Linked DNA regions of Homo sapiens: all the other regions are linked to region 1. Evidence: promoter capture Hi-C in 16 types of primary human blood cells and fetal thymus (Javierre and others, 2016). All regions are on one chromosome and are shown on one strand. Each heading gives the region's core, a stretch centred on a gene start or on the middle of the fragment in contact. The rest is flanking DNA. Distances are from core to core; before and after follow the strand shown.

Evidence for each region. Contacts are between HindIII fragments. The CHiCAGO score rates a contact against its expected background, and 5 or more counts as called.
Region 2: a fragment that was not itself captured here is called in contact with the fragment with the promoter of CCDC6 in region 1 in 1 of 17 cell types (fetal thymus); the score reaches 5.9 in fetal thymus.
Region 3: a fragment that was not itself captured here is called in contact with the fragment with the promoter of CCDC6 in region 1 in 10 of 17 cell types (naive CD8 T cells, fetal thymus, naive CD4 T cells and 7 more); the score reaches 16.5 in naive CD8 T cells.
Region 4: a fragment that was not itself captured here is called in contact with the fragment with the promoter of CCDC6 in region 1 in 1 of 17 cell types (M1 macrophages); the score reaches 7.1 in M1 macrophages.
Region 5: a fragment that was not itself captured here is called in contact with the fragment with the promoter of CCDC6 in region 1 in 1 of 17 cell types (M0 macrophages); the score reaches 5.5 in M0 macrophages.
Region 6: a contact is called between a fragment that was not itself captured here and the fragment with the promoter of CCDC6 in region 1, in 3 of 17 cell types (fetal thymus, non-activated CD4 T cells and naive CD8 T cells). The highest score is 6.2, in fetal thymus.

What each region holds. Positions count from the first base shown.
Region 1 is chr10:59,904,205-59,909,211 of GRCh38, reverse strand. CCDC6 (coiled-coil domain containing 6) reads left to right here and starts at 2,656. Exons shown (of 9, transcript NM_005436.5): 1 at 2,656-3,090. The coding sequence starts at 2,788. RefSeq lists enhancers at 228-1,021, 3,714-3,943 and silencers at 2,067-2,361, 2,544-2,883, 2,914-3,193. The HindIII fragment of the contact is 3,234 bases long and covers 716-3,949 here.
Region 2 is chr10:61,895,123-61,900,129 of GRCh38, reverse strand. No RefSeq gene overlaps it. Among named protein-coding and RNA genes, the nearest start is that of ARID5B, 4.1 kb to the left of the region's middle. RefSeq lists an enhancer at 3,123-3,292. The HindIII fragment of the contact is 1,379 bases long and covers 1,737-3,115 here.
Region 3 is chr10:58,261,186-58,266,192 of GRCh38, reverse strand. The region is part of intron 1 of IPMK (inositol polyphosphate multikinase); the gene reads left to right. Among named protein-coding and RNA genes, the nearest start is that of IPMK, 4.2 kb to the left of the region's middle. The HindIII fragment of the contact is 3,933 bases long and covers 836-4,768 here.
Region 4 is chr10:58,322,106-58,327,112 of GRCh38, reverse strand. LOC112268068 (a long non-coding RNA gene) reads left to right here. Exons shown (of 1, transcript NR_158219.1): 1 at 1-1,485. Among named protein-coding and RNA genes, the nearest start is that of UBE2D1, 10 kb to the left of the region's middle. The HindIII fragment of the contact is 6,040 bases long and covers 1-5,007 here.
Region 5 is chr10:58,342,334-58,347,340 of GRCh38, reverse strand. The region is part of intron 1 of UBE2D1 (ubiquitin conjugating enzyme E2 D1); the gene reads right to left. Among named protein-coding and RNA genes, the nearest start is that of UBE2D1, 9.8 kb to the right of the region's middle. The HindIII fragment of the contact is 1,809 bases long and covers 1,436-3,244 here.
Region 6 is chr10:58,376,259-58,381,265 of GRCh38, reverse strand. No RefSeq gene overlaps it. Among named protein-coding and RNA genes, the nearest start is that of TFAM, 6.6 kb to the left of the region's middle. The HindIII fragment of the contact is 7,211 bases long and covers 1-5,007 here.

The DNA.
Region 1 (5,007 bases), core at 1,407-3,906:
TAAAAATCTTGATGTTGCGCCTTGCAGTTAGACTACAAGGTATTCTTTTCCTTTGTTCATGTGTTTTTGCAGCTTAAATTGAGGGCAAAGCTAAATTTCATTATTTCTCCAAAGGAGGTGATTACCTAAATCTGTCCCTTCTTCCTCCAGGCAGCACATACTACCATTTGTTCTTGTGATTCATTTCCCCTAGAAAGCTGAGAAGGAATTTTATAATGATATTATTGGTTTTGTAACTGGTGTTTCCATTGTAATGCTATTACGGAACCAGTGTTGTGATAAATGATCTGTTTATAAGGGAAATCACTTTTACAAGAAGTAGAAAATTAGACACGCTTCTGCTTTGCAATAACAATAAAAACCGCGGTGAAAAAATATTCTCCAGTTTATTCCCATCTGTATCAGCAGGGAAGCTTTAGAAGATGGCTTTCTCCCTAAAGTCTTCTAACCACGATTACTACCTACAAGTCCCATGTCAAAATGCAAATTTCCTCCAAATTCCACTGAAGGCCACTACATTCTTAAGCTTAACCATGACTTGGGCCCTTTAAGAAAACCAGGCGCTTCAAACTCCACCCCTCTGCTGACTTGAAGCAGTGTGAGTCCGCCTTTCCAAGGCGGTTAGTTTTGTGGTGACGCTAAGAGAGAGTTAATTTGCCCCCTGCTCTGCCTGGAAGGAATGTTCCTGTTGCAATAAGCTCTAAAAGTGGAAGCTTTAAGATAATATGGAATAGGGAGCAATAGAAACTTGTGAGGTATGGCAGCCAGACCTACTCTTAAGATTCGATCACAGTGCTGAATAAAGGGGAAAGAATGTTGTTAAATCTGTTTCCCCCTGTGGTGCTTCTCCCTGCTAGCTTTACTCTTCCATTTCAACCCTCAAGTGAGCTTTCCAGAATCCGTTTCCAATTTAACTCATTGTCTCATGTACTAGATCCCAAAAAAGTGAGAGAACTAAGTTTCAGTGCAAATTAAACTGGATCACTTGTAACAGAATGATTTAGATTGCCTATATGTTTCTCAAGAGCAAAGCCAAGCATTTCCTCCCTCCTGCTATACAAACAGTGACAGAGTTCAGAAGCCCTCCAGCACTAAGCTAAAAAATACCTGGGAGAAACTGGGGTTTAGTTGCTGTTGGCATTTAAGCTGTTTGCTAAAAGCAGCCATCTTGGTGAAAGATGATGTCATTTGGAACACTTGGTGTTTTCGAGTTTATTCTGAGGTGCCAGTTTCCAAGAGCCATTGAATCACCGTTTAATCATGAGATCAAATTTAGGTTTAAAGATAATGAGGGAGTGGGAATAAGAATCATTCTTCTTTCTTCCTAACACTTTAGAAATCTTTCAGAAAGTTCAACCCAACAGAAAAAAAAATTACACTTTTTTTTCTATTTTCTATTACCATGTGTTTGTTGTAATGTTAACTAAGCGTGGGTAATAAAACTAGTCTGGTCAGTTTCACTTTCCAATTTTTATACATAAGTGAAAGCTGTTTTGTGTCAACAGGGCAAAGTGTTTAGAATCATCTCACCTGCTGGGCCAATTTCCTGCAAGCCTTTCTTTGGGAAGAGGAAGGGGGAATAAAAGTTTTTGATTTTTAATTTCTTAAACTGCAAAGCTAGAACCATGAATTAGACCGCATTACAGTAATTACTGTTTTATTTTTACATGCTAAAGTTTTCTAGGAGTGAGCAAGAGGATAGCAAAGACGGGTGATGTTGCACTCCCACTCAATCATTACTATTTGTATAGCATAATGTTATGTCCGCAGTTACTTTGGAAAATTGGCACTTAAAGAGGTGTTTCAATCTTCTACTAAAAGTGTTTCGCCTTCCTTTTTTTTTTTCTTCATTAGGTAAATGTTACTGTCTTAATCCTACTACGAGACATGTGCTGGAAATGTTTGCAAAATGCAAAGAGAAAAAGAAAAAAACAGTTGCACCTTGTTTAAACAATTGAGCGCAGTGTGGTTTATGAGGTTATTAAAGGAGATGTGTGTCTCTCCTGCAAATTCTTACTTAACAAGGTTAACCTGTGGCTGCTGTTGTTTCATCCTCCTCGGCCTCTTGTAGAGGAACTTTGTTCTCTTAGGTTTATCCAAGCCTTCCTAGTCAAAAACACCTTGCTTTTGAGAATATAAAACTGCGTGTATGTGTGAAACAGATAGAGGGAGACACGCGCACACACAGTCGGCGGAAGATGGGGCCACAACACGGTAGAGGATGGGTGCCGGAGCCCGGCTGACCTTTCCACGTGTCCCCGGCACCTGCGAGGCTGGTGGGGCATCAGGTTTCCTTTTTCTCGGGGCGGGCGCGAGCCCGGAAGAGGCTGGGCGGCCGTGGGCTTAGATCAGGGGGCTCGGAGGCCCTCCCTTGGAACACGTGTGGCTGGCGAGCTGGTGGTGCGGGGGCAGTCCTTGGCTTTCCCGCACCCGCAGTGCCTGCGCGTTCCCAGCCCGCCCGTGGTCACCAGACGGCGGCGGGCGGGTCCCGGAGCTTTCAGCCAGCTTTGCTGGGCGGCCTAGGGAGCGCGCCCAGCCCGGCTGGAGCGAGCCCCAGTGCAATACTGCCCAAGCCCGGGCGGGGTCTCTGTTCTCTGGCAGAGGAGGTCCCTTGGCAGCGGGAAGCGCCCTCTCTTTCTCTCGCCGCCGCTCCGAGTCTGCGCCCTGGTGCCAGGCGCTCAGCTCGGCGCTCCCCTGTGCTCGCCCGGCGCCCACTCATTCGCAGCCCGGCCTTCGTCGCCGCCGCCTCCCTGCTGCTCCTCCTCCTTTCCCCAGCCCGCCGCGGCCATGGCGGACAGCGCCAGCGAGAGCGACACGGACGGGGCGGGGGGCAACAGCAGCAGCTCGGCCGCCATGCAGTCGTCCTGCTCGTCGACCTCGGGCGGCGGCGGTGGCGGCGGGGGAGGCGGCGGCGGTGGGAAGTCGGGGGGCATTGTCATCTCGCCGTTCCGCCTGGAGGAGCTCACCAACCGCCTGGCCTCGCTGCAGCAAGAGAACAAGGTGCTGAAGATAGAGCTGGAGACCTACAAACTGAAGTGCAAGGCACTGCAGGAGGAGAACCGCGACCTGCGCAAAGCCAGCGTGACCATCGTGAGTGCCCCCCGGGGACGCGCCGCAGCGCCGACCTCCGCCCGCCCCGGGAGGGGCTGCACCCGAATCCAGCCACCCCCCAAGTCTTCCCCAGATTCCCGGGGACCCTCTGAGAGCACACTCCCTGCGGGGACCTGCTGGCTTCCGGGAGGAGAGGGAGGTATCCCTTCGGGGCCACGCGGGTCTGTCCTCCTCGGGGGTCTGAGGACCCTTGCGCGGTGCGGGGGAAGGCTACTGTGGCAACCATTCATGGTCCCTTTTAGCCTCTGGAGAGGAGGCCCCTCCGGGGCTGGGCTGGAGGCTGGCGGCGTGGCTGGGGGGCGGGGTAGGACTTTTTTCAGCCCTAGCATGTTTGAGGGGTGCGTCCAGAATCTGGGGAACCCCAGTCCTGGAAGAGGGAGGAAGCTGGGATCTCTTACTGGGTCCTGGCTCGGAGTGTGGGGGTTCGCAGCTGGACTGGGCACTAAGCTGGCATCTGGACTGCGCTAGCTGGATCGCCCGGGGAGGGGGCGGGAGAGAGTGGCCGGGAATCCGGGAAGTGGAGTTTTCTGGCCGGGATCGAGAGGGAAGGGCGGGTACGGCGCTAATGCTCCCACCTCTGTTGGAAGCTCTTTGCTTTGGGTTGGGAGGGTGGACGGTTTACAGCGAGGAGAGTGCAGCATCCACGCCTGGACAGGGCTGGGGCCGAAACCAGGGGAAGGGTAGTGACTGTGACTCCCTGGCTGAGCCAGAGGTACGTGTGTTTGCTTCATTCGTGGAGTGGTTAGAAGTATCTTGCTTCTGAGTCTAGATACTGGAGAACAGGCCATCTGTTCTGTTTCTACCTGTCCCCTGGAGGCTGCCCAGAAACGGGTAAGCTTGGGTCTGTAGGTCTCTCTCCTGGTGTGGCAGGCGTTTAGAAAGGCCCCTATAGCAGTGATGAGGCGAAACGTAACTAGAAAAAGTACACTGTGTACTCTCACCTATCATCCCTGCCAGCTCACCACATCATTAACATGAAGGATCCCCACACAGACAACTGTATTCAAATCAAAAGTTCCCCAGCCAGAAGCAGAGAAGATGATGTCAAGAAATCAAGGGGGATAAATGGCCATAGCTGCTGCAAAATAGCGGATTAGGCTGAACTTTGAAATGAAGAAAAAGGGATGAATTTGGGGATAGAGGGTCACACCTTGGAAATGGAGCAAGTTTAGGATGCCCCTTGTGCCAGGAAATGCCTTCGGTGGAGGAGGCTGTGTATATGTGTGCGCACGCGTGTGTACACCCCCAGTGCTGGCTCATACATGAGAACTAGATGGCATTCTTAATTTGTGTAGAAAGCAAGTTGCAAGTTAAGTGTGATCAGTAGCCTAAATAGCAGTTGATTGTAAAAAGAAACTTTTCATGCTCAAATCCAATTTTGGAGAATGGAATTGGAGCAACTTTCATGTGAGATGGTAAAGTTCTTGAAGTGCCCTTTTGGTAGGAAGGTGGGGGGCGGGGAATTTGCAGAGGCAGCCACTTCCAAGCCTCCTATGCAGCTTTCTTCGCTGACAGAGATGTCTTTGCTGAGTGGGGGTTAAGAAGAGAGGGAAGTTGTTGGAGGCAGTTTAAGGTTTGAGTTAGTAAATGAGAGGGTTAGTCTCTTGGAGACTGTGAGCCATGGAAAGTAGTAAGACTTGCATGAAGCAAAATAGCCTTTTGCATGCAGTGGGCAATTCAGGCTGGTTTTGTTTGGGAGGGAGGAATGAGGGATGCAGAGACTATGAAAGGGTTATCTGTTTGACACTTAGACCGTATTATAACTAGGTTTGTAAATTGTGCTTAAACATGTTGGCTTTGCAGGAACAAATGTGTTCATTCCCGGTGTTTAAGATCAGAGGCCTTCTGAGTACTTGGCTAGAAGAGCGTATAAGGTGGTGGCTTGCTTTCTTAGCA
Region 2 (5,007 bases), core at 1,177-3,676, 2.0 Mb before region 1:
CAGGATGTTGAAATTACTAGTAAGCTATTTTTAACGCTTTCGCAACGTTTCACCTCTAGTCACAGCATCTAGTTGAAACAGGATTACTTTAATGAAAATTATATTCACATGGCTGAAGTTAATACACCCGGCAGAGCACAAATGCCTCATATTCAGTGACTTGAGGTGGAAAGACCCTCTGTGTGTATTTTTATGCCTTTTCATAACGTCTGCGTCCGCTGCAGTAAGAATTAGGGCACTTAACATTATCTAAACCACATTTTTGATTCAGAATATGGGGAAGTAATAAAAGGCAAAATCTATCTCGTTTCTATACACACAGAGATAAACGAAAGAAAATGGCAGATCCTCTAATTACAATAAATAATAAAAGCCCATGCCAAAGAGCCGGTATTCTGAAAGCTGTCGAAAACTATTTTAATAATTTAAAGTAATATCACAACTCTGCACCATGGAGGACTACAATTCGCAGTCTCCCATCTTTAACATTAGCCAAATTATGACTTGCACATCACTCTTTAATTATCTCTTGAAATTTCATCTGATCTTTCTATTTTATAAACATGGGTTACAAAGAGAAATTATAGCTCTCCTGCGCTTTCTCTCTCTCTTTTTAACTTTATAATGCATACTGCAGACGTTTGATTAGAATCGCCCATTTTGTTCATTTTTAACATATGAATGGACTTGACTGAGGGGCATTTTACATGTCTTTTTTAAAAATAGATATGCCTAAAGCTTCTGTTAGTCTCTGTCGTGTTAGCGTAAATATATACATCCAGTTCAAGAAATCCTATATTAAAAAAACTTGAGTTGCAGTATTTTGACAAGATCGTATTTGAGATCGACTCTGAGTCAGTTTCCTGTATGACCAATGCAGCAGCATTTATGCAGGAAACCTCAACAGAATGCCTGAGGGTATCCCTCAATTGTATATTAAATCTCTTTCTTAAAAAATTATACAGCTCTTTACAGCATCTAAGCTACTTCTACTGTCTTTGGTGCTGTAAGTCTTTAAGTGTGTAACGAACTTCATCTAATTAGAAACCCTGTTTCTTCAGCTCTTCAAGGTAGGCACTGAACTAGGATGCATGCTGCCTTATCTCTCCGATAAGGTTTCTGAGATGTTAACAATTGCAGGGATCTGGGTCTGAATATTTTTGAATATCCGCAGCCTTGTAATCAGATGAATGCTAAATTTCAAAACCGAATCACAGGGGTATCTTTCCCCCTCTTTTTACAGCACTGCCCCCACCCCCCGTGAACATAATAAATCTAATAAATCAAACCAATACTGTGAATGCCTTTTAAAATTACAGATCACAATAGTGTTTACCCCTCCCCCCCAAAAATCCCTCAATTTTACCTCTTCTTTAATGTGATGTTTGATAGGCACCTGTAAATTATCTGTGTAGCAAATATCCATACAAAGAAAGTTTCAATTAAGATAAGGAGATTGTATTGAAACAGTTCTTTGAAGTAATGTAGTTAATAGCCTGTTTGATTTCTGCTTGTGAGAGAGTAATAACGTGGATTCAAGGCTCCATCAATCACAGAGCAGATGTAAGACTTGAGACACCGACACCCAGGGGAATAGAGGCAAACTCCTGCAGTGCAGGGTCCCTGGGCTAATGTAAAGTAAATACTCATAAACAGATTGAATGTTGTAAGAAGACAATCCATTCAGGACAGTTATAATCATGAAAGCAACTGCTTTATTTATCTATAAAAAAGCTTGTAGCTGGAACTTGCTGTGTATAAAAGGTGGGAGGGAGAGTAGTATATGTTTATATGACCCACTACTTCTGGGCTCTTTCTTGTACTGAAACACAGAATCCGGTACCCACACACCTATATTCTTGCTGCTTTACTAGCCAAAAATCCAACTCTCTAAGTTAATCTCGTGTATTTACACGGTAAAAAATTAAAAATCATTCTTGCCCCTCAAGGGGATGGGAGAGCAGTAGACATTATTCAGTGTCTGTGAATCGCTTCATAAAGGATCAGGAGGATTAAGTTAGTTGCAAAAACCAGCAGTGACATAATTAGGCAGCTTGGACTATAATAAACAGGATCATAAAAAAAGAAAAAAAAGGAAAAGTACAGTTTGAAGAAAGAAGGCGACCATTTCGAAAATGCAAACCTCTCTGCGTACCCCTGGGCCTCCCCTCCCCCAAATTGCAAAAGACAACTGAAGCATTTTTGACCTTGGCTACAATAATACTTCATGTTTTAGCACTTTAGTCAGCATTTTATCTACTAATTGCTACACACTACCGCATGTGGCTCGAATCTGCCACTGCAGCTTTCTCTCATTGGTGAGCGAATTGCTTGATAAAGACTGGGAATTCAACCTGGCTGTTTCCTTTCTTGCTCCCCCTCAGCCATCCACCCCCCCACCCCTTTTCTTTCCTCTTCCAGCTAGAAGCCACTAATTTTCCCAGAAAATACCACATGGATGAGAATAGGGACAGTGAATTGTTCCCTGATCTCTCTCCACTGGTTAAAGCTCGGGTCACTTTTGCGATCCGGAGGCAAAACGGAGGCGGTGAAGGGGGGTAATGGGGACGAGGAATTAGGGGGACGAAGCGAGGGGCGAGTGGATTCTGGCCTGTTGGCGGACCTGATGCTAGGTGATTCTGAACGTGGGTCCCTTGCCCAGTCCATCGCTGGTTGGAAGTCTGTGGGGCTCCACGCTGCCCACCTGGGGACCTCGAGTTAGGCACGCTCTCCTGCTCTTGCTTGGTCAGTAAGTGGGGTTCGAAGGGGTAGCCCTGGAGTCTGCAGACTGATTCGTAAAGAACCAGCACTGTCTGAGGGTCAGCCACCGCCTGGTCCCATCCCCCTCTATGCCTGGCGCCATCGTGAGCGGCGGGGGCGGGTGGCGTTATTAATAAGGAGGCCTTGAGCAGAGCAGGCTCGCCAAGCCTTAGTGCAACAAGTCTATTGGTTTGAAGGAGGATCAACCGGGTTATACGGGTCATTGCTTTCCAGGAGACCTCTAGTGGTCAAAGGTTGAGCTACATCTCAAATTTGGGTCTATTCGTCGCCTGTCTCAAGAGCTGTGGTGGGGGTGGGACTCCAGCCCAGGTCCAGGTGGTAAAGGCTGGAAGCTTCAGAAGGATGGGTATGGGGACAGATTTCTCATGAACTTGGAGCCGGAGCCAAGAGAGACACAGGGAACTCGGAGCAAGTGATCCCCTGGGAAGGGTCATGTGATGCCCTTTGTGGGCACTGGAAGCCCCAAGTTCCCCTGCCCTCGATACAGATGGAGACTTCCTATCTCATCTTGATTTTCCTCCCGAGTCTGAGATTAATCAAATATTATGCAGGAAGTTGGATTAAATTTGCTCAAGCCTTTCCAGTTACAATAGCAATGCTGAGTCTGTTTATTTTTTCTAATTTGTTTGTAAATTAAAGCCAAGTCCCATTCCCTCACCCCAATCACAAATACACCCTAACACCCCTTAATTTTAACAATTTCATTGCCTTCAAGTGCCCTTGACATTTATGGGTTACTTAGTATAGAAATAACTAAGCTTTTTTTTTTTTTAATTGCCTGCACTGCGGGGTACATATATGACGTTTGGCTAAATTGTAATCTTGCCCCTCTATTCAGAATGCCACGGCATTCCATCTCAAATGGCAGGGTGCTGGAGGAAAGGGTAGTGGTGACTCAGGCTTTCAGACTCATTTGTGATCCACATATTAATAAATAATTTGATCAAATTTCCCCCCAGCATGGTATTAAAGAAATTCCTGGGAACACCTATCATAGGTCATACTCAAAACAGAGGTCCCAACCATCTGAGGTTATGAAAACATCTTGCCATACCTGATTTTTTTTTAAAGGAGACAAGAAAAAATGTACAGACATGGAGTCTTGGCTCCAATGGGGCACTCATATATTGCCTACTAAAATTTCTCTGTGCAGTTTCAAACGGACATTAATGATGCCTTGTATTTGGTGATTTACAACTTATAATTACTTGACAAGCATTAAGTAACTCATTACCTAGAAGCAGAGTGGGTACGGTAGGTAAATCACTAGACTGAAAGTCAAGGGGATCATTCTTCTCTGATTTGCTGTGTCTCCATGTCCATGACTATAATTATCTGCAGGACTCAAACCCTAATTCTGGCTTTGTCGGAATTTCTCAGTTATTGTGGCAGAATTATCCAGGCTGGTCATCTGTATAGAGGCAGCTGCCCTTGCTGGGGAGTCATTCAGACCCATGGAAGTGCCGGCAAGTCCCTTGACCGCCTCCACCTACATTTTGCCATGTCACAGACTGATAATTTTATGACTTGTTATTGCAGGTTGAAATATGTAAACGTGGTAATTCACTAAGGGTATAAGGAGATCTGTGTACTTCAGAAGAAAAATAATACCAAGAAAAACAGTGAGGTTGGTTCTGTTTTCATTTCCAATAAGCTTTGGCCAAAATAAAATTGGGTGGGCTTTCAACAAAGATAGTAGGGGACCAGATGAATTTCCCTCAGGGCTTAAACAACGCCCTTCTAGAGATGTGCTGGCACTAGTTCCCGCAGACTCCCTAGAGCTGATGATTACATTTTCAGAAATTTTGCAAGTCAGATGTCAAACACATCCACTATTGAACATTAAATTATATAAGCTCTCAAATAAATTATATTAGAAAACAATGGTAATATACCCTCAACACTCTAATTGTTTTACTATATTTAACTGTTATCTATACTCTGGAGGTTATTTATGTCTTTTGTATTTTTGTGGCCGCAATACAGTATCCTCAGAGGACTGGTTCCAGGACTCCTGGCAGATACCAAAATCTGTGGATGCTCAAGTCCCTTATATAAGATGGCATAGTATTTGAATATCACCTACTCACATCCCCCTTATACTTTAAATCATCATATTGTAATAACTAATATGATGTAAATGCTATGTAAACAGTTGTTATATTGTTTTATTTTTCACTTATTTTTATTTTTCACTTATTTCACTTATTTATATTTTTCACTTAT
Region 3 (5,007 bases), core at 1,553-4,052, 1.6 Mb after region 1:
ACGGACTGGGAATCAGTAACACTCAGGAAATATTGAATAGTGAAAATTGACAGTTGTTTTAGTATACCGAGGTAAAGAAACAACGTCCTCAAGTTGCTCAGCATAGACATTTCCTCCTGTGTGCCAGTGTCTTGTAATGAGAATTTGAGAGTACTCATGGGGTTTCTGTTAATAGAGGAATGCCTATTGATTTATATTAATACATTGTGATTTTACTATTCCTAATAATATTCTAGATGCCTGAAAAAGTAAATGTTTCCCTAAAGGTCCCTAGAGATTGACTTATATGCAAAGGAGAATAGATTTTAAAAATCTCAACATAAAAACAATCTAAATAATTGTCACTTAAGAGTGTAACCACTGCTTATTACAGTATGTAATAGTGATCCCATTCAGAGTGATTGCAAATAGTGGCTGAAAAGTTAATTTGTCACCCAAATTGCCTAATTAATGGAAAAGTTTAGATTCTAGAGGTAGTAGTCCTTAATTTTATTATGGCATTCAGTGTAAAATAAACTTTTTTTGCAATTTCATAAGGGTCTTTTGAGTAGGGACAGTGTTTGTGTCACCATAGTAGAATGGCTTAAACATACTGTGCTAGCAACCTAATATTTGTTGAATTTAATTCTCAGATAGTTATACAATCCTGACTGTATTGTTAAGTAAAAGGATACTTGACTGATGATATATTCCCTATTTGTAAAATGGATAAGATGGTCACTAATTCAAAGTTCAACAGTTTTATTATGTTTCTCCACTGTCATAAGTCATGTACAGTTTACATCATTTAGATCATGCTTTGGTCTGTCAATTGAAATAATTCTCAGGATAAGCTTTGTTAAGGACGTTATGTTGGTATTTGTTTTGTTTTTAAATTTGTGTTACTATCAGTAAGTAACCAGAAATGTTCCATTTAGAATTATTTTACCTATTTCCAAAAAGGAGTTGTTGGCTTTGTTAGTTTAAAAATTAAACTCATGGAACTTGATAGAACAAAGGTGCTTGAACAGAAAAATAGATCTTGTTATATATGCTAAGTAACAAGCATATATTAGTAGTTCAGACATCCGTTATATTTTGTGTTCTTCACTGAAACCATATTTCATCAAAATACATTTAAATCTTAGTTCTAAGAATACAAAGTATTTTGTTTTTTAAACTGTAAAAATTGTATAGTACACGGATCTTTTAGGAAAAAAATTCAGTTTAAGTAGTGCCCTTCCCCCTACTCATTCTCCCAGGGGCAATCACTGGTAACTACTTCCTGTCTATCCTTTCAGGCCTTTGTTTCTGGGCACATACATAAACACATTAGCGCGGTTCTGTTTTTTTATACAAATAAATCTATCAGCAACTTTTCTCATTCTGTATTATATCATGTATTATACCTATATTTTTGCACTTACGGTATACTTTATTCTTTCTAAAAATTGTGTTCTACAATGTGGATGTATCACAATTTATTTAACTATTTCTGTAATCATAGATTTTTAGACTTTTCACCATTTGTTTGCTGTGATAAGTAATGTACTTATTAAACATTCTTGTATATAATAGCATACCTTGCACGTTGTGTACCTATCTCTGTAGGAAGTTTTCGCAAAAAAAAGATCAATATAAATTCCCAAAACTCACCAAAGTTAGCATAAAATTCTTTTAATATGTATCATTAAGTTCTTTAAAAAGTCCTTAAAGTTTTAAACAAATGATGGAAATCTGATATTTCTTGATCTGATGTAGGATGTAGAAATGGGGTAGTCTATAGGGAAAACAAGGATTTAAACTGATAATTGTTGTGGGGGAGAAAGACCTACAATTATCTTGGCTTAGTAGTCTCTTTTTATTAGATATCCTCTGAAACTAATTAACCTAAAATAATTTCAAGCCTACAGAAAAGTTGCAAGAACAATAGAAAAGTAACATTTTGCAAAATTTGTTTTATTATCTCTCAATGCAAATAATTTTTCTTAACTATTTGCAAGTAGGTTGCATACATTATGCCACTTTACATGTTAATACTAAAGTGTGTCTTCCTTAAGAACAAGGATATTCTCTTCTGTAGCCACAGCACATTGATCAACTATGGGAAATTTAACAGGGATATAATACTTTAATCTATAGTCCATAGTCTCACTTTGTCAACTGTTCCAATACTGTAATGTCTTTTATCACATTTGTTTTTCTCAGTACAGGATCTGGTCCAGAATCATTTATTGCAATTAGTTGTTATGTCTTTTAGTGTCCTTTCATTTGTAACATATCCTCAGCCTTTCCCTGTCCTTTATGACATTGTCATTTTGAAGAGTACAGGCCAGTTATTTTATGAAATGTTCTTTAATTTGGGTTTCTGATAGTTCCTTACGATGGGATTCAGATGATACTTTTCCAGCTGGAACATTGTGTAAGTGGAGGCCAACAATAGCTGCCCTTTGGTAGTGGATTATTTCTGGTTGTCTGATTCAAGTGTAGTCTGGCTTCTTCAGTATATCGTTTTGTTTGTTTGTTTTTTGAGACAGGCTCTTGCTGTGTCACCTAGGCTGGAGTGCAGTGGCGTGATGTAGTTCACTGCAGCCTCAAACTTCAGGGCTCAAGCAATCCTCCTGCCTCAGCCTCCTGAGTAGCCGGGAGTATAGGTGCACACCACTAGGCCAGGCTAATTTTTTTTTTTTTTAACGGAGTCTTGCTCTGTTGCCCAGGCTGGAGAACAGTGGCGCGGTCTTGACTCACTGCAACCTCCGCCTCCCAGGTTCAAGTGATTCTCGTGCCTCAGCCTCTTAAGTAGCTAGGATTACAGGAGTGCACCACCATGCCTGGCTAATTTTTGTATTTTTAGTAGAGACGGGGTTTTGCCATGTTGGCCAGGCTGGTCTTGAGCTCCTGGCCTCAGGTGATCCACCCACCTCTGCCTGCCAAAGTGCTGGGATTACAGGCATGAACCACTGCTGGGCCAGGCTAATTTTAAAATTTTTTGTAGAGATGGGATCTGGCTTTGTTGCCCAGGCTGGTCTTGAACTACTGGCTTCAAGTGATCCTTCTGCTTCAGCCTCCCAAAGTGCTAGGATTACAGGAATGAGTCACCATGCCTGGCTTCAGTATATAGTTAATGTTTTCTGTTCTACATTTAATAAGCTATATGTGAGGAGACACTTTACAGTCATGCAGCTATCTGGATTCTCATCAACTTCATCCCTAGATTTGGCATCTGTTGATTCTTGCCTGAAGCTGTGTTTATTCTGATAGTTACAAAATTGTGATTTTTTCCCCCCATTCTTTCACTCCCTCTGCTTTAACAGCTAGCATTCCAAGAAATAGCTCTTCCTTTACCCTTAAGTATTTATGTCCTTATTTATAATCAGTTTGCATCATGGATTCCTATTTGATAACATGTATCATTACCCATTATGGAACTTATTTATTGGACTTTAATCACATCTCAATGTTTTTAAAAAAGGAACTTATTTATTTTGTTGCTCAAATGGTCCCAAATTTGACCATTGAGAGCACTTCCTTTCTGTCATAACAGATTTTTTAGAATTATCTCATAACTTTCTTCCCCAGCCCTAGAGTCAACCATTTCTTCAAGGAGCCCTGGTTTCTTTTTAGTGGAAAATGGTATTTAGAAACCAAGATCTGTGTTACTAGGTATTGTCATAACTGTTGGAGTATCATTTCTTCCAGGACTTTTCAATGGACATGATTTTTAAAGTATGTATAAATATTTTAGAAATTATAATTTCATATTTCAAATTTCATTTAAACCCGAGTTCTTCCTTTCCCTTGATTCTAAATTTGTATTTCCCTTCTTCTGTAGTAAGAACCCTGGCTCCCAGTGATATTAATATGTTTATTCTTTTGCTTAATCTTACAATTTTCAGAATTTCTACACCCATACTACTTCAGAAAACAAGCCTAGAATAAAGAATTCAGGATGAGATTTTTTTATTTATTTATTATACTTTAAGTTCTGGGGTACATGTGCACAACGTGCAGGTTTGTTACATATGTATACATGTGCAGTGTTGGTTTGCTGCACTCGTTAACTAGTCATTTACATTAGGTATTTCTCCTAATGCTATCCCTCCCCCATCCCCCCAACCCCACGACAGGCCCCGGTGTGTGATGTTCCCTGCCCTGTGTCCAAGTGTTCTCGTTGTTCAGTTCCCACCTATGAGTGAGAACATGCGGTGTTTGGTTTTCTGTCCTTGCGATAGTTTGTTCAGAATGATGGTTTCCAGTTTCATCCATGTCGCTACAAAGGACATCAACTCATGAATTCAGGATGAGATTTTCTTATACTGAGGGTATAAACTGTGTTCAAAAATTACTTGGGGCTGGGCACGGTGGCTCATGCCTGTAATCCCAGCACTTTGGGAGGCCAAGGCCAGGAGGTTGAGACCAGCCTGGCCAACATGGCAAAACCCTGTCTCTACAAAAAATGCAAAAATTAGCCGGATGTGTTGGTGGCGCCTATAGTCCCAGCTACTCAGGAGGCTGAGGCAGGAGAATCACATGAACCTGGGAGCGGAGGTTGCAGTGAGCCGAGACTGTGCCACTGCACTCCAGCCTGGGTGACAGAGCAAGACTGTCTAAAAAAAAAAAAACAAACAAAAGTTAGTTGGATTAGGTTTTTTGTTTTTGGTTGTTATTTCTTTTTCTCCCTTTTCGCAGTAGTAGTATTCATTTGAAATACAGTTGGGTTCATTTGTTTCTGTTTAAATTCATCCCTGCTTCCTCAAATTTTGTTTGTTTGATTATATATTTGAAAGCTTATAACATTAACATGCTTCCAAAAAACAAAACTTTACAGAAAAGTATAATAAAAAATTTCACTCCCTTATCACTCCACCCCATCCACTCCTCAGCATCTCTTGTAGGTAATCAATTTCATTGTTTTCTGATTTACCCTTTTTGAGTTTCTTTTTACAGAATTAAATAGATCTATGGAAGTTTTATTTCCCTTTCTTTCTGATACAAAATCTAGTATGCTGTATATACTGTTTTTCACAT
Region 4 (5,007 bases), core at 1,260-3,759, 1.6 Mb after region 1:
AGCCTGGGCCTCCTGTCACCCCGCAGCAGGGCTGCAGCAACCCAGTTCTCCCACACCCGGCCCAGCTTACGGAAGAGGCCACAGGGATCTTGCAGCCGTCAGAAGCTCAGATTTAAGAAGTCTCTGCAGGATACGGAGCAGGCAGCAGGAGTTGTCAGCGCACGGAATACAGAGTGGTTCCCGGGTCACGATGGGGTGTGGAGGCGGGGGTGGGGGGAGATGGTCCAGAGAAAGATGGTCCAGAGAAAGAGGGGCAGATTTGGAGAAGTCTTTGGAGAGGATCACTGGCCAAGTGGAAGAGGCGGATGAAGAGCTCCCTGGGTGTGCTGCTGACCAAGGCAGATCTGGAGGCAGAGTCAAAGCAACAGTCGGCAATCGGGCAATTTATGAAGACGTTGAAGGAAGGAGTTGACACACGGATTCAGTCAGAAATTTCAAAGAGAGTAGAGTGAAAAGAAGGGTTTGGTGAAAAGATTCAGGCATTCCTGGTGGAGGTGACATAGTGGAGCAGGACATCTACCAGAAGTCCCGGGGCTATGGTCCATGAGCTTGGCCCTGGCGGAGTGAGGCCAGTGCAGCCTGGCTCCGCTGCAGGAGATGCCAAGACAAGGCTGCCCTCTCTGGAACAAAAGTGACCTCATTTCTCAGGTACTGCTGGGGACTGCCGGCCAATTGCCAATTTTGCCTCTCCTTCACTCAATGAAGAAGTGTTTGTCTTTGCAAATACAGGAAGCGCTCTTTTTTGTTTTCTCCTTGTGTTGTTGAGGCTTTGCTGTCCAGGAGTGGTTTCTGGGGAGGGCCACCCCATCCAATGTCCCCACCTTTTTTGACCTTTGGGTGCTTTATTTGGGCTGGTGAGAACTCTCTTTTGTCCTGGGGGCAGTTCTGAGCTTATAGGCCACTGAGGTCTTCATATACAACAGGGCCTATTCCTTTTGTGATTGGGTAGTCCCACCAACTGTAACACCAGAATCATCAGGAGGTAGAGCCCAATCAGGAGAGCTGGGAATGAATGGCTCAGAACCGGTGTTTGGCACACATGTAGGACAAGCATTCTTCATGTGTCTTATTTTGAACAGCTGTCTGGATTGTTGTCTCACAGGTTTTGGCATTATGTGACCCCCACATCCCCAATTCTGTCCTGCTACAGGCCGTAAGATTTCAGGGGGACCATTCCCAGGGTGGTACCTGTGGTTGATATATGAACTTCCTTGTCCCCCACAAATCTCCACAGGGTTCAAACCCAGTGTTGAATGAGTCTCTGTTTGAAATTAGATTAGAACCACCACTTGGGAAGGGCAAAGAGCAGACAGCCTCAACAGTGGTGGAGCCAACCATGAACTTCTCAGGAGTGACCTGTGCTTCCTTCAAGGCAGTTTCTGTTATGTGTATCCTTCTAAGACCTGCATTTCTTTCAAGACTGATCCTGTCCATTTTGTAGCCCATTTTTCTTCATTAACAATAAAACCAATTGTGAGCACCAAAGAGCAAGCAGAAGAGTGTTTAAACATTTTTTCTTTCTTTGATTAATGAAGTACGAGAAAAAAAAATCCCTCTGTGGTTCTATTTAGTCATAATTTATTTTCATAACGTTCTGAGGGGCCCTGGGAAGTTAGACCCCTTCTTAAACAGGGCAGCTGCATCCCCCCATTCTTCAGCAAAGCACCCAGTGGACAGGCTCTTGATGGGCCACTCTGAGGCAGAGGGGGATTTCAACAAAGACCCCGGAAGTTAGGACCGGGTTGTGGGAGCTGGGACAAGGTTGTGGTGAGGGCAGAAATGTGGATGTGGCCCGTTCCCTCTCATCCCCAGCTGTAACTGGAGCAGTTCAGTATGTGTCTGTTTTTCTAAAGTATCTGAATGGACTTGGGTGAGCTTCCTCATATAAAAATTAGTTTAATAGACCTACCATGTATGATCAACGGAAACAGAAGGTAATGTGTAATGCACTTAGCACAATATGGGGAACATGGAGCTTGTTCAGAAAAATGGGAGCTATTATTGTTCTTGAATTCCACATTAGAATTTATTAAAAGAATGGCTTCCAACACTTGAAAAAAAAGTTTGGAAATCACTGATTTCGCTCATGGCCTTTGTTAACACAAAGAAAAAAAACATGTTTTGATAAATTATATGGAAAGTCTGGCCTGTAATCCCAGCACTTTGGGGGGCCGAGGAGGGCAGATCCCTTGAAGCCAGGAGATCAAGACCAGCCTGGGCAACATGGTGAAACCCTATCTCTACACACACACACATATATGTATATATATTAGCCAAGTGTGGTGGTGCATGCCTGTAATCCCAGCTACTCGGGAGGCTGAGGCATGAGAAATGCTTGAACCCAGGAGGTAGAGGTTGCAGTGAGCCTAAATCATGCCACTGCACTCTAACCTGGGTGACAGAGCAAGACTCTGTCAAAAAAAAAAAAAAAAGAAAGTAAAAGAAAGAAAAAAGAAAGAAAGAAAGAAAGAAAGAGAGGGAGGGAGGGAGGAAGGAAGGAAGAAAGGAAGGTCTATTATTTAATTTATATAAAATTTTTAAAAATGATGAAAAAATAGCATTTTTATCCCATGATTTATTATCTAAAATGAAAAATGTTTCATGGAAGAATATCCCTAATAAACTCATTTCAAAGTTTTGATATAAAAAAGATTAAGGCAGTGGTAATCCTAGAGCAGAAAGTTACATGTAGAGAGAATTTTATTCCCATAATAGATGTGTTTTACTCTTTTTCAGGGTTCCTTCTTCTCAGATATATATTTTTTTCTTTTTTACAATTCCATTTAACAGTTTTCTCCAGCCAGACAAGGTGGCACACGCCTGTAATCCCAGCACTTTGGGAGGCTGAGGTGGGCAGATCACTTGAGGCCAGGAGTTCAATATGGCCAATATGGTGAAACCCTGTCTTTATTAAAAATACAAAATATGAGCTGGGCATGGTGGTGTGTGCCTGTAGATCCAGCTACTCCAGAGGCTGGGGTGGGAGAATTTCTTGAACCTGGGAGACAGAGGTTACAGTGAGCCAAGAGTGAGTGCATGCCATTGCACTCCAGCCTGGATGACAGAGCGAGACTTCATCTCAAACAAAACAAAACAAAACAAACAAACAAACAACAGTTAAAAAAAAAAAAAAAAAAAAAAAAAAACCAGCTTTCTCCTATCTTGTGACCCTTCACAAGCATGTTTAGAAATTTAGTTCCTTTCTTCTTTGATATGAATTGTCATTTTAGGCTATGATATAAATATTCTGGATGGAGTCTTTTGACTGTATTGCTCTAATCAATTTAGTTCTATATTATAACAATTGCACATTTTGCAGCTGATATGCCATCTAAAAGTAAACATTATTCTTTTTTTTTTTTTTTTTTGAGATGGAGTATCGCTCTGTAGCCCAGGCTGGAGTGAGTGGTGCGGTCTCGGCTGACTGCCACCTTGCCTACCGGGTTCAAGTGATTCTCTTGCCTCAGCCTCCCAAGTAGCTGGAACTACAGGCGCATGCCACAATACCTGGCTAATTTTTTGTATTTTTAGTAGAGACGAGGTTTCACTGTGTTAGCCAGGATGGTCTTGATCTCCTGACCTCGTGATCTGCCTGCCTCGGCCTCCCAAAGTGCTGGGATTACAGGCATGAGCCACCGCTCCCTGCAAGACTATACTTTAAAGCAATAAATGAGCACCTCACTCTCTTAACTTTTTAAGTAATCTAGAACAATATATTGTCATTTACTGAGATTGATGTTTGTAATTTTACTCCTGAGATTAAACAGTAATAAACATGTTAATGCTATAAACATTGTTAAACAAGTCTACATGACACAGCTCTTTAACAAACCTATTTCCAAGTGCTCTGAATCATGGTTGGTTGTACTTTTCTGCAATGCCTCACAGAATCTAATTACAGGCACTAAATGCAAAGCCAACTTTATAATCAATTAAGAGTGATGGGGACTCCAAAGCCAGCTGGCTTAGGAAGACCTTTATATATACTGTATAATATAATCTTGTGAAAAGGCAGAAAGATATTTACACTTTACTGACACAGGAAGTTCGGTGGTTGGGCTCACCCTAGGGATACAATATGTGTTCCTAATTCCTTCCTGTATGCCTTTCTACTTTTTGGAAACTTTCTCCCAAATCCTTCTCCTTCCTTTCCCATTACTTTCCCATTCCCCTGCAGCCAGGAGTGAGAGACTTTACTAAACCCCAAGGATGATAAATACAGCATTCCTTATCCTTTAAAAATCTGTGTCTTTAGCCTTAAACAGGAAGGAAATTCTGACATAGGATGCACCATGGATGAATTTTGAGGACATTATGCTAAATGAAATAAACTGGCCACAGAATGACTTAGTCTGTATTATTCCACTTATATGAGGTTTCTGGAGTAGTCAAATTCACAGAAACAGGAAGTACAATGGTGGTTTCCAGGGTCTAAGGGTCACGGCAGGGCATGGGGAGTTGTTTAATCGGTATAGAGTTTCAGTTTTGCAAGATGAAAAAGTTCTGGATACTGGTTGCATAACAATGTGACTATACTTACCACGACTGAGCTGTACACTTAGAAATGGTCAAGGTGGTACATTTTGTTATGTGCTGTTTTGCTACAATTAAAAAAAAAATGTCATTAAAAAGACAGACAAATGTTGGAGAGGATGTGGAAAAACTGGAACCCTTATCCACTGCTGGTGGGAATACAAAATGTAAGTACAACAACTTTGGAAAAACACTTTGGCAACTTCTTTAAAAGTTAAACATAAGCTGGGTGTGGTGTCATGCACCTGTAATCCCAGCTAATTGGGAGGCTGAGGCAGAAGGATTGCTTGAGGCCAGGAATTTGAGACCAGCCTGAGCAACATATCAAGTACCTTATCTCAAAAACAAACAAAACACATATATACAAAAGCTAAACCAAAATGTAACCATATGACTCAACAATTTCACACTTAGGAACCTATCAATGAGAAATAAAACATATTTCTACACAAATACTATGCACATGAATATTCA
Region 5 (5,007 bases), core at 1,091-3,590, 1.6 Mb after region 1:
TAAAAATGCATTTATTCGTTCTAGTAATTCAAACTCTAAACCTTGGAGTTACCATCTAATTCTTCTCTTCACATCCCACTCCTTCACAATTTGAAAAGTACCAAATTGTTCAGATTCTCCTTCTGTCTAGATCCCTCCCTCTGAAAGGGTCCCAGAAGGCCCATCAAATAGGACAGCTGAGGTCCAACGTGTAGAAGAGTCTGATATAAGCCAGAGGAGAGGTAGTTTAGGATAAGAACCCAAAGGTTCCAGCCAGGCAGACAATCTTAATATCTGGGACCAGACTGGATAACAGAAGGAGGAATCTGAAGAGATTGCCTAGACCAGGGAGCCTGTGATACTTGACTTGAAAGGCCAAGAAGGTGTAGGCATAGATGGATCACACCAACTCAAAAGGGCCAGGTGGTACAAACACCCTGTAATTTTTGTCATATATCCCTCTTTTCAATGTCCTCTGCTAACACTGTAGCTTAGACCCTCTTTGGATCTCACTTAAGTGCAATATCTTAACTTACCTACTGTCCTCCTATTTTTCTACCTATACACTGCTGCCAAAATCATCTTCTTGAAGAGCCATGTCAAACCTCTTCGATGTTTTCCATTCACCTTCATGTAAGACTTATAAGTCCTTAAAATGACTTGCCAGACCTTCCAAGACGTGACTTCTTTCTAGCGTCATATCTGCAACACTTTTCCCCAGTGCTCTCTGCACCAGCCATGACTTTTAATCTTGCCTTTAGTTGCAAACATGGCTTCCTTTTCGGCAGAAGATACTTAATCACCTCCCCTCCCCAAAACACACTTTCTCCCTCATTCTTTCATTTTATCTACTTTACTTTTACTTTCTTGTCTCATCTTAAACATCATTGCCTTCAGGTTTTCCCTGAAACCTTCAATGGGTCCCTGCTATATTCCTAGAATACTCCATGCATCCCTTTTCATGACATTAATCAAAATTATAATGACAAACAGTAAACAATCTTGAGTTTGATGAGGGCAAGGATGCCTATGATTAAGAGTGTTCATTCCGGCCGGGTATGGTGGCTCACGCCTGTAATCCCAGCACTTCGGGAGTCTGAGGCGGGCAGATCATTTGAGGTCAGGGGTTCGAGACCAGCCTGACCAACATGGTGAAACCCAGTCTCTACTAAAAAATACAAAAATTAGCCGGGCATGGTGGTGCACGCCTGTAGTCCCAGCTACTTGGGAGGCTGAGGCAGGAAAATTGCTTGAACCTGGGAGGCAGAGGTTGCAGTGAGCAAAGATTGTACCACTGCACTCCAGCCTGGGTGACAGAGTGAGACTCCGTCTAAAAAAAAAAAAAAAAAAAGTATTAGCTCCTATTACTCAAAAACCTTCAATGGCTTCCCCAATCTTCTGCATTAAGTACATATTTCTCAGCACAGGCCTTCAAGGTTGTCTACAATATGAAGCTTTATGGTCTACTGTTTCTGAACGATTCCCAAAAGCAGGATTATCTGCTCCTTCCCAAATAAGCCAAGCATATTCTAGTGTCTTCATTTCCGTAGCTTCCTCTACAAGCCTGGCTCCCCTAAGTCTTTCAAAATGCTATCCAGTCTTCCCAACCTATATCAAATTCCATCTTCTCCACAGTTTTTCCTGATTTTCCCAAATAAATTTGGCCTCTCCCATCTTTGACTCCCTTCCTGTTTAAATATATTGTATTTTCTGTTTGGTACTTTCCTAAATCCATCTAGTTGTTACAGGACTTTTCTTACACTTATTAATTTTAAATTTCTTAGATAATGGTGATACCTGTTTTTCTACATAACTAGCATCTCCTTACTGCATTTAATATATGCCTTGTATCAGAAGGTGTTTGATAAATGCATTAACTTGAATCTTTTGAGACAGGGTCTTGCTGTCATACAAGCTGAAGTGCAGTGGCACAATCACAGCTCACTGTAATCTTGAATTCCTGGGCTCAAGTGATCCTCCCACCTCAGCCTCCCAAGTAGCTGAGACTACAGGCACGTGCCACGATGCTGAGCTATTTTTTAATTTTTTTTTTAAAATAAATGGGATCTCACTATGTTGCCCAGGATGGTCTCAAACTCCTGGGCTCAAGTGTTTCTTCTGCCTCGGTCTCCCAAAGTTCTGGGATTACAGGCATGAGCCACGTGCCCAGCACTGAATCTTAAAAATCTATTACATAGGCTGGGCACCATGGCTCTCACCTGTAATCCCAGCACTTTGGGAGGCCAAGGCGGGTGGATCACTTGAAGTCAGGAGTTCGAGACCAGCCTGGACAACATGGCAAAACCCTGTCTCTATTAAAAATACAAAAATTAGCCAGGCATGGTAGTGCACACCTGTAGACCCAGCTACTCAGGGGGCTGAGACATGAGAATCCCCTAAACGCAGGAGGTGGAGGTTGCAGTGAGCTGAGATCATGCCACTGCAGTCCAGCCTGGGTGACAGAGCCAGACTTTGTCATTAAAAAAAAAAAAAACAAAAAAACTATTACCTATAAGGCAGCTGTGCAGCTGTGTATGGCAGTTGTCTAAATATGTGGATAAAACAATCTTAAGTACAAAAGCTAACAAATAGAGAAAAGCTAAATGGAATTAGAGAACCACGTTATGTTACCAGTGCAATAATAGAAATACATTTTATTTGCATCATAAATAATTGCTCTTTAGTTAGAGAATAAGATTTATTGACCTTATACATTAAGAGATGTCAACATTTATTTCAAATCTGATATTTCAAAGTAAATGGAATTTTAAGTCAAGTCTAATATAGCTCCATAGCACAGTGCCAAAGCTCAGTGTTTGTTTTTGTGATCACTGTTGTTTGCTGCAAAAAAAAAAACAGCAAATACATTATTTAGGTTTGCCTAAAATTATGATTCAGAAGAGATGACAGAAAGTATCAAGTTCAATCCATTAAGTTTCCAAGTGAGGAGTATAAAGACTGAGTCTCCTGGCCAAGGTCACAAAGCCAAACTAGGACAAAGGGACAGACCATCTGACTTCTACTCCAGCACTCTTCCCACCCCAATTCAATACTCACCTCAACACTGTAACAGCTAGAGCACATTATTTTCAACCAACACTGAAGCAAACAATGCTCCAGTACTGTATTAAGGCCATTTGCACATTTTTAGCTATGCTCCAGAGAAACAAAAGTGTGATAAGTGAAGGAATGAGAAGGAATTCTTATCTTTTCTCAGGAGCTTATATCATATAAAAGGTTAGAAACGAATACTATTTCATAAGCTTTCAGGAGCGTTGTGTTTAAAGACACTCTGAGAGTCAAGAAAAACTTTACAGGAAATTATACACAACTTAAATAAATAGAATTTTCACATAAAATATGCAAATGGAGCATTTTGAGTGCTCCATTATCAAAACTTACTATTTACTTTACAGTAACCAAAAAAAGATGGAAGAAAAAAGAGAGAAAACCTAGCTGCCTATTTATTAAAACGTGTGTAAAACATGAACATGCCTACCAATACCTACCAAATATTTGTTATTAAATATTGCTTCTTACAGCTCTATACCTAATAACTGGCATATAGTGGGCACTTGAGTGTTTCATAATAAATTCTCTACTCTCTGTTAGTATCATCCAGTATTATTCTTGAATATTATGGTTGTACATCAGTCACTAAAATGCTGCTACTTGTAGAAGAAAACAATGCATACGGTCTGTATCAAATGCAAACGTTTCCAAGGCTAGAACAGTTTACATTATGTGTATATGTGTATCAATATATTTGTGTGTCTCTGTGTATGTGTATATGTATTCATTTGCTCTCCCTATATATGTATACATGTATATGTATGGTTGTATGGCATGTATTTTTAACATTAATTTTACCTAAGGATCTTATGTTATGGAACAGTGATTTTCCAGCTTTCCTTACAGCAATTTATAATATGAAAAAGATTTTACATTACAACCTAGTACACACACACACACTAAAACAAATTTCATGAAACAACACCCTTACTATATGCAAAGCACTAATATTTTCTATTCCATTTTAAAAAGTGGATGTTTATTATTCACTAAACTGTTTGGAAACTCATAAAAGAGAAAAAAAAAGATACTGGGAAGGTGTACACCTTAGTTTGGCATCCATTTCTTAGAAATAACCTACAGTCAATAGATACCAACTGGAAAATACCAAAATGAAGTCTACAAACTATTAACCATCATTCATTCAAAAGTGCTGTTGAGCACCTGAAAAGGCTGGGTCATAAAACAAGTCCCCACTTGGGAGGCTAAGGCAGGTGGATCACCTGAGGTCAGAAGTTTAAGACCAGCCTGACCAACATGGTGAAACCTTGTCTCTACTAAAAATACAAAAAATTAGCTGGGTGTGGTGGTGGGCGCCTGTAATCCCAGCTACTTGGGAGACTGAGGCAGGAGAATTGCTTGAACCCAGGAAGCAGAGGTTGCAGTGAGCCGAGATCGCGCCACTGTACTCCAGCCTGGGCGACAAGAGCAAACTTCATCTCAAAAAAAAAAAAACAAAAAAAAAACCAAAAAAAACAAGTACCCACAATTTAAAAGGAGTCAAATAATAATAGAATTTGTTCTCTGACCATAATGGAATTAGAAATCAACAACAGAAAGCTATCTGTAAAATCTCCAAACATATGGCAAATAAATAACGTATTTCTAAATAATCCAAGGGTCAAAGAAGAGATAAAAAGGAAAACTAGAAAATATCTTTAAATTTAAGTGAAAACAAAATACAGCAAAATTTGGGAGAAGCAAAAACACAAGCCAGAGATTTCCTGGTTTAAGAGAAGAGAAGAAAAATGAACCCAGACCATTTGTTAGGTCCACTTGGTTTTCTCTAGACAATCCAACCATACTACTCCCAAACTCTGCTCGCATAAGGAGGGTGGCCACCTAGAATGAGAACAATCAGATTATTATCTGAGGAAGCTTAAGGTGAAGGAACCAACTCCTCAGCTCACCCCCACTGGAGAAGTTTCTTAAGTCTGAAAAAAAACCCAGGAATCT
Region 6 (5,007 bases), core at 784-3,283, 1.5 Mb after region 1:
GAAATCCAGAATGATTGTATTGAAGGAATAATGCTGTTAATAGGACAATATAATGTGTCTGCCCTCATACCACGGTAAAGTATCTGATCAATACAAATGGTAATAATTATAATTTATTGCTAAACTACATGCCAAGTATTTTACATACATTATCACTAATCCTTTCATAAATCCTCTAAGGTGCTATGATTTCTACTGTACAGCTATGAAAACTGTATAAATAATAGGAAGGATATCTTCCTTGTTAGCATGTTAATAACAAAAATTGCCACCTCTGAATCCACAGTTTGCAGCTTTGAAGTTATATATGACTCTACGTAGATACAGGATAGGTAAATCAGTCATGAAGCGGTAGTTTTCTTAAACACCTGCTCACATTCTATTATTTCCAGTCCCCATAAATGCTTTCTTATTTATCTGAGTGGCTTACTAAAATAATATCTTAAGCCAGGGCAATGGCACATGCCTGTAGTCCCAGTTACTTGGGAGGCTGAAGCAGGAGGATTGCTTGAGCCCAGAAGTTTGAATCTAGCTTGGGCAACATAGCAAGACCCTTTCTCTTAAAAAGTATTCAGTCACCCAAAAACATAGGTTTGAATTTAAAGAACTACACATACACATATGCATGAGTGTGCGTGCAAAAGTAAGAGTGCAGAATAGTACACAAAATTTGGTTTAATAGTGATTGTATCTGAGTATTGCAGGAGTGCATGGGTGGTACTCATTTTTTAATTTATATATTATCTTAGTCTTCTTGTAAAACACAATAGTAATATTCATCTTTTAGTGATAATTTTTTAAAAACTCAGTTCCTAGGAGAGGCCAATACTGTGCCAGACACTGTGCTAAGTTCTAAAAGTACATATGGTTGGGTGCAGTGGCTCACGGGGGAGGATCACTTGAGCCCAGGAATTCGAGACCAGCCTAAGCAACACAGTGAGACCCCCGTCTCCATAAAATAAATAAATAATACATACAAATACGATTAAGGCCCGATCATCCATTTAAATTTACCTGGGAAAGCAGGGGATGGCTTCATAGAGTAGGTGACATTTGAACTGTTTTTTCGAGTGGGGAAAGGTTGAGATGCCTTCCAGAAAAGGAAAACAGTATGTGCAAGTCACAGATATTTATGAGGGCATGGTATATGTGAAAAGGAGTGGTATGAAACAAACCTCTTTAAATTTGAGTGGGGTTGGGTTGTAAAGGACTATGTATAATTTAAGTTTGTTAGGAAAATATAGCCAAACAACTTTTTAGGCAGGTTACAGGCACAATTAAGTTGTTTTTATAAAAATCCCTTTAGTAGGAGCACAGAGAATGATGGGTGTGAGAAGACTGTTGCTGTAATCCAGGAAAGAGGGTCTGAGATTCTGAAGTAACATGGTGCCATGGCTCATACTCCAAAGGCCTAAGTATAATGGGCAAGATTCCATTGACTGGTTAAGTACATAGAACACAAGAATGACTTTAAGGATTCTACCTTGATAGACTATTCCAATTCCAATTGCATACTCTGCTAAGTGAATATCCCCAAGCAAATGCTTTCATTATATCATTTGGCTGGTTAAAAACTTACACACTTCTTACTTGCTATCGAACCAAGATTTCATATCCAGCAGATCTATGTTCTCCACCTAATCTTTTCTCTCATTCATTGCACATGGACTGCCAGTGCCATTCTCACTTATTTCTACTTTATTACCTTTGTTTGGCTTCTCCTGTTTTCATTAATGCCTTCCCTACTTAAATATGCCAATTAGAACCCTAAGTATCTTCCAAAGCCTAGTTCATTCATTTGTTTAGTGAACAACTATTTAAGTACTTGTGTGCCAGACACTGTAGATCCCAGCAAGCATAAAGATGCACACTGGGAATCATGGTAACATTGATGAGAACTATTATTACCTCAACAGCTAAGAAAAGGAGTGACATAAAAATTAGAGATTTAAAGGATAGGGAAAGAGGGCATTTTGAGCGGAATGTACAATTTGACCAAAATCTGAGAATGAGAAGCACCATTCTATACTGGAAGTGGGGAGAGGTTGGGATCCAGTGAGAACTGCAGGCAGTTTGGTGGGAGTCGGGAATGGCAGATGAGACTGGAGATGCAAGCTAAAATTTACCACAAGAGTCTTAAGGACTTGATACTTTATTCTGTTGGTTCATGATTTAAACAAGGGGAAAGAACCTGAGAACCCAAAGGGTCCTGATATACGTATCAGATAAAAATGAGCTTCACTGTTTGAAGTTATAAGTGGGTCCAAGTTAAAGTCAGGGTCCAAAGGCTAAACCATTAGCATCTCCCTTCTTTTTTCTGTAGGTCCCTCTGCAAAACCACTGCTGAGTCTGTGGGGAACTATTTAAAAATGTTAAAGCTGATAACCCACAAGATCAGATTTGGGGTTAGAATACTTTCACACTTCTGTGGATGATGGACTTGAGGGTAGGGAAAAGATAGGATGTTGTGGTAGTACCATCAAAAAATGAAGAGGTAGAGATTTCTGCTTCAAGAAATTCCACTGAGAATCAGAAGAGCTGCATAAAATAAAACCTTATAATTGAGAAAGTGTGAGAGAGCTGCAGAAGTCATGAGACTTTCAGAGGTGAGCTGAGTATCTGTGGTCATTTTTCTCCTGGAGTACAGGTTAGAGGCTGAGAATTTGGGCTTTATGCAGGCAGAGGAGCACTGCTGAAGGACAGAGTTTTTTGTGGTTGCACAGAGCTGGAGTGACAAAACTAGAGACTTAAGGAACCTCAACATACAACTAGTTTCCCCCTCAAGTAAGAGCCAAAGTTTTAATTTTGTTGGGTAGGAGGCTAAAGAGCTAAATTTCTGAAAAAAAATATAGTGTAATTTTCTTCTCTTAGTATTGAGAAGACAACAGCCTGACAGAGGAAGGAGACCCCAAAGAACAGCCTAGAAGCAAAAAGACTGAAGTTGTGAACTAAACTAACACCAATGATTTACATCCTCTCTTCTCCCTGCAGCACTTGTTGATTTGGATGTGGCTAAAGGCTCAGGATTCGAGCTTGATCCCTTATGACTGTTCATGACATTAGAACCAGTAGTAGTCTGGTGGTTGCATACAGCAAATGTAACATAATTACAGATTTGAAGGGCTTTAGAGACAGCGGGTTGCTTGCTCAAGATGTTTGCCAAAGTATGAATCTCCCAGGAGCAATAGGCTAAAACTGTGAATCAAAAATACTGAAAAGCAAGGTGGAATTTCCTATAGCCTGTCTGTGCTGAGAAACAAAGACAGTTGAAGAGGGTTATGCACTATGAACAAAGATAAACTAGACACAGTTTGGGTCTAATAAAACTGCAAGCCAGCCTCAACTAAGCACAGGTCCTGATTGCATTAAAGTGGTCATCTTCACACTCTATTTGACTAGCCGAGCACACGATGTAACCTCTCTGGTGGAAGAAAACATCATGAGTTTTCACAGGTTTTTTTTGCACAATGTCTGGCATTCAATAAAAACAGACCCACAGGTAACTCAGATACTAGAGTTAGCAAAGACTTAAATAACTGTGATTAAGAACTTCAAAAACTAGAGAAAAATATGGACAAAAAATAAAACAATTTAGGAACTCATCAAAAAACTAAAATATGTTTAAAAAATCAAATGGTAACTTAGAACTGAAAAATAAACCTGGAATTAACCATAATGTCTGAAATGGAGTTGATGGGTTTAAAAGCATATTGAAAAAGCAGGAGATAGGATTAATGAACTGGAAAAAAGGTCAATACAAAACTGATGCACAGAAGGACAAAGAGGGGAAAAAAGGAAAACACGGAAAATAGGTTTGAAAACATGTTGGATACAGTCAAAAGATCAAATATATATTTTTTATACTGGGGCCCTAAAGGGGAGAAATAGAATGGGGCAGAAGCAATATTCCATAAAATAATGGCTGAGATTTTCTAGAACTGATGAAAATATATCAACCCACAGATTCAAGAAGCTCTGTGAACCTCAAGCAGGATAAAGACAAAGAAAACTACACCTCGTAACACCGTCATAAAACTGCTAAAAATAAAAAAGATAATCTTAAAAGCAGTCAGAGAAAATAGGCATATTACTTTTAAAAAGGCAGTAAGACTAATAAGGCCAGGCGCGGTGGCTCACACCTGTAATCCCAGCACTTTGGGAGGCCAAGGCAGGTGGATCACGAGGTCAGGAGTTTGAGAACAGCCTGGCCAATATGGTGAAACCCCTTCTCTATTAAAAATACGAAAATTAGCCAGGTGTGGTGGCAGGCACCTGTAATCCCCAGCTACTCAGGCGGCTGAGGCAGAAGAATTGCTTGAACCCGGGAGGCAGAGGTTGCAGTGAGCCGATATCACACTACTACACTCCAGCCTGGGTAACAGAGCAAGACTCCGTCTCAAAAAAAAAAAAAAAAGACTAATAATAGCTGACCTTTCAATAAATTATGGAATCCAGAACACAATGGAATGACATCTTTAAATTGCTGAAAAGAAAATACCCATCCAGAATTCTATTCCCAGTAAAAATATCCTGTAAAAATGAAGGCAAAATAAAAACATTTCAGAAAAGCAAAACCAAGCGAGTATTTGTCACCAGAAGATGTACACTAAACAAAATTCTAAACGGAGTTGTTTAGTTAAAAGGTAAATGATCCCATATGGAAACAGGAAAGCAATGAATACTGGAAAAAGTAAAATCGGAGGTAGGTATAATGATACTGACATACAAAACATCAGTGTCTTGTGGAATTTCACATATATGTCAAATTAAAATACATGACAATAATAATACAGCAAAGGTGGGAAAGAGACAATGGAATCCAGGTGGTCTAAAGTTTTCACATTATAGGGAAAAATGGTACAAGCAATAATTCATATTAAACTATAATCAGAGATAGATCTTTTAATTTAGAGTAATCACATGCACAAAGAATGTCTAACAAGTTATCAGAGGGAAAGAAAATGATACTGTTATAAAAACTGAAAAACCCAAAAGAAGGAAAAAAGA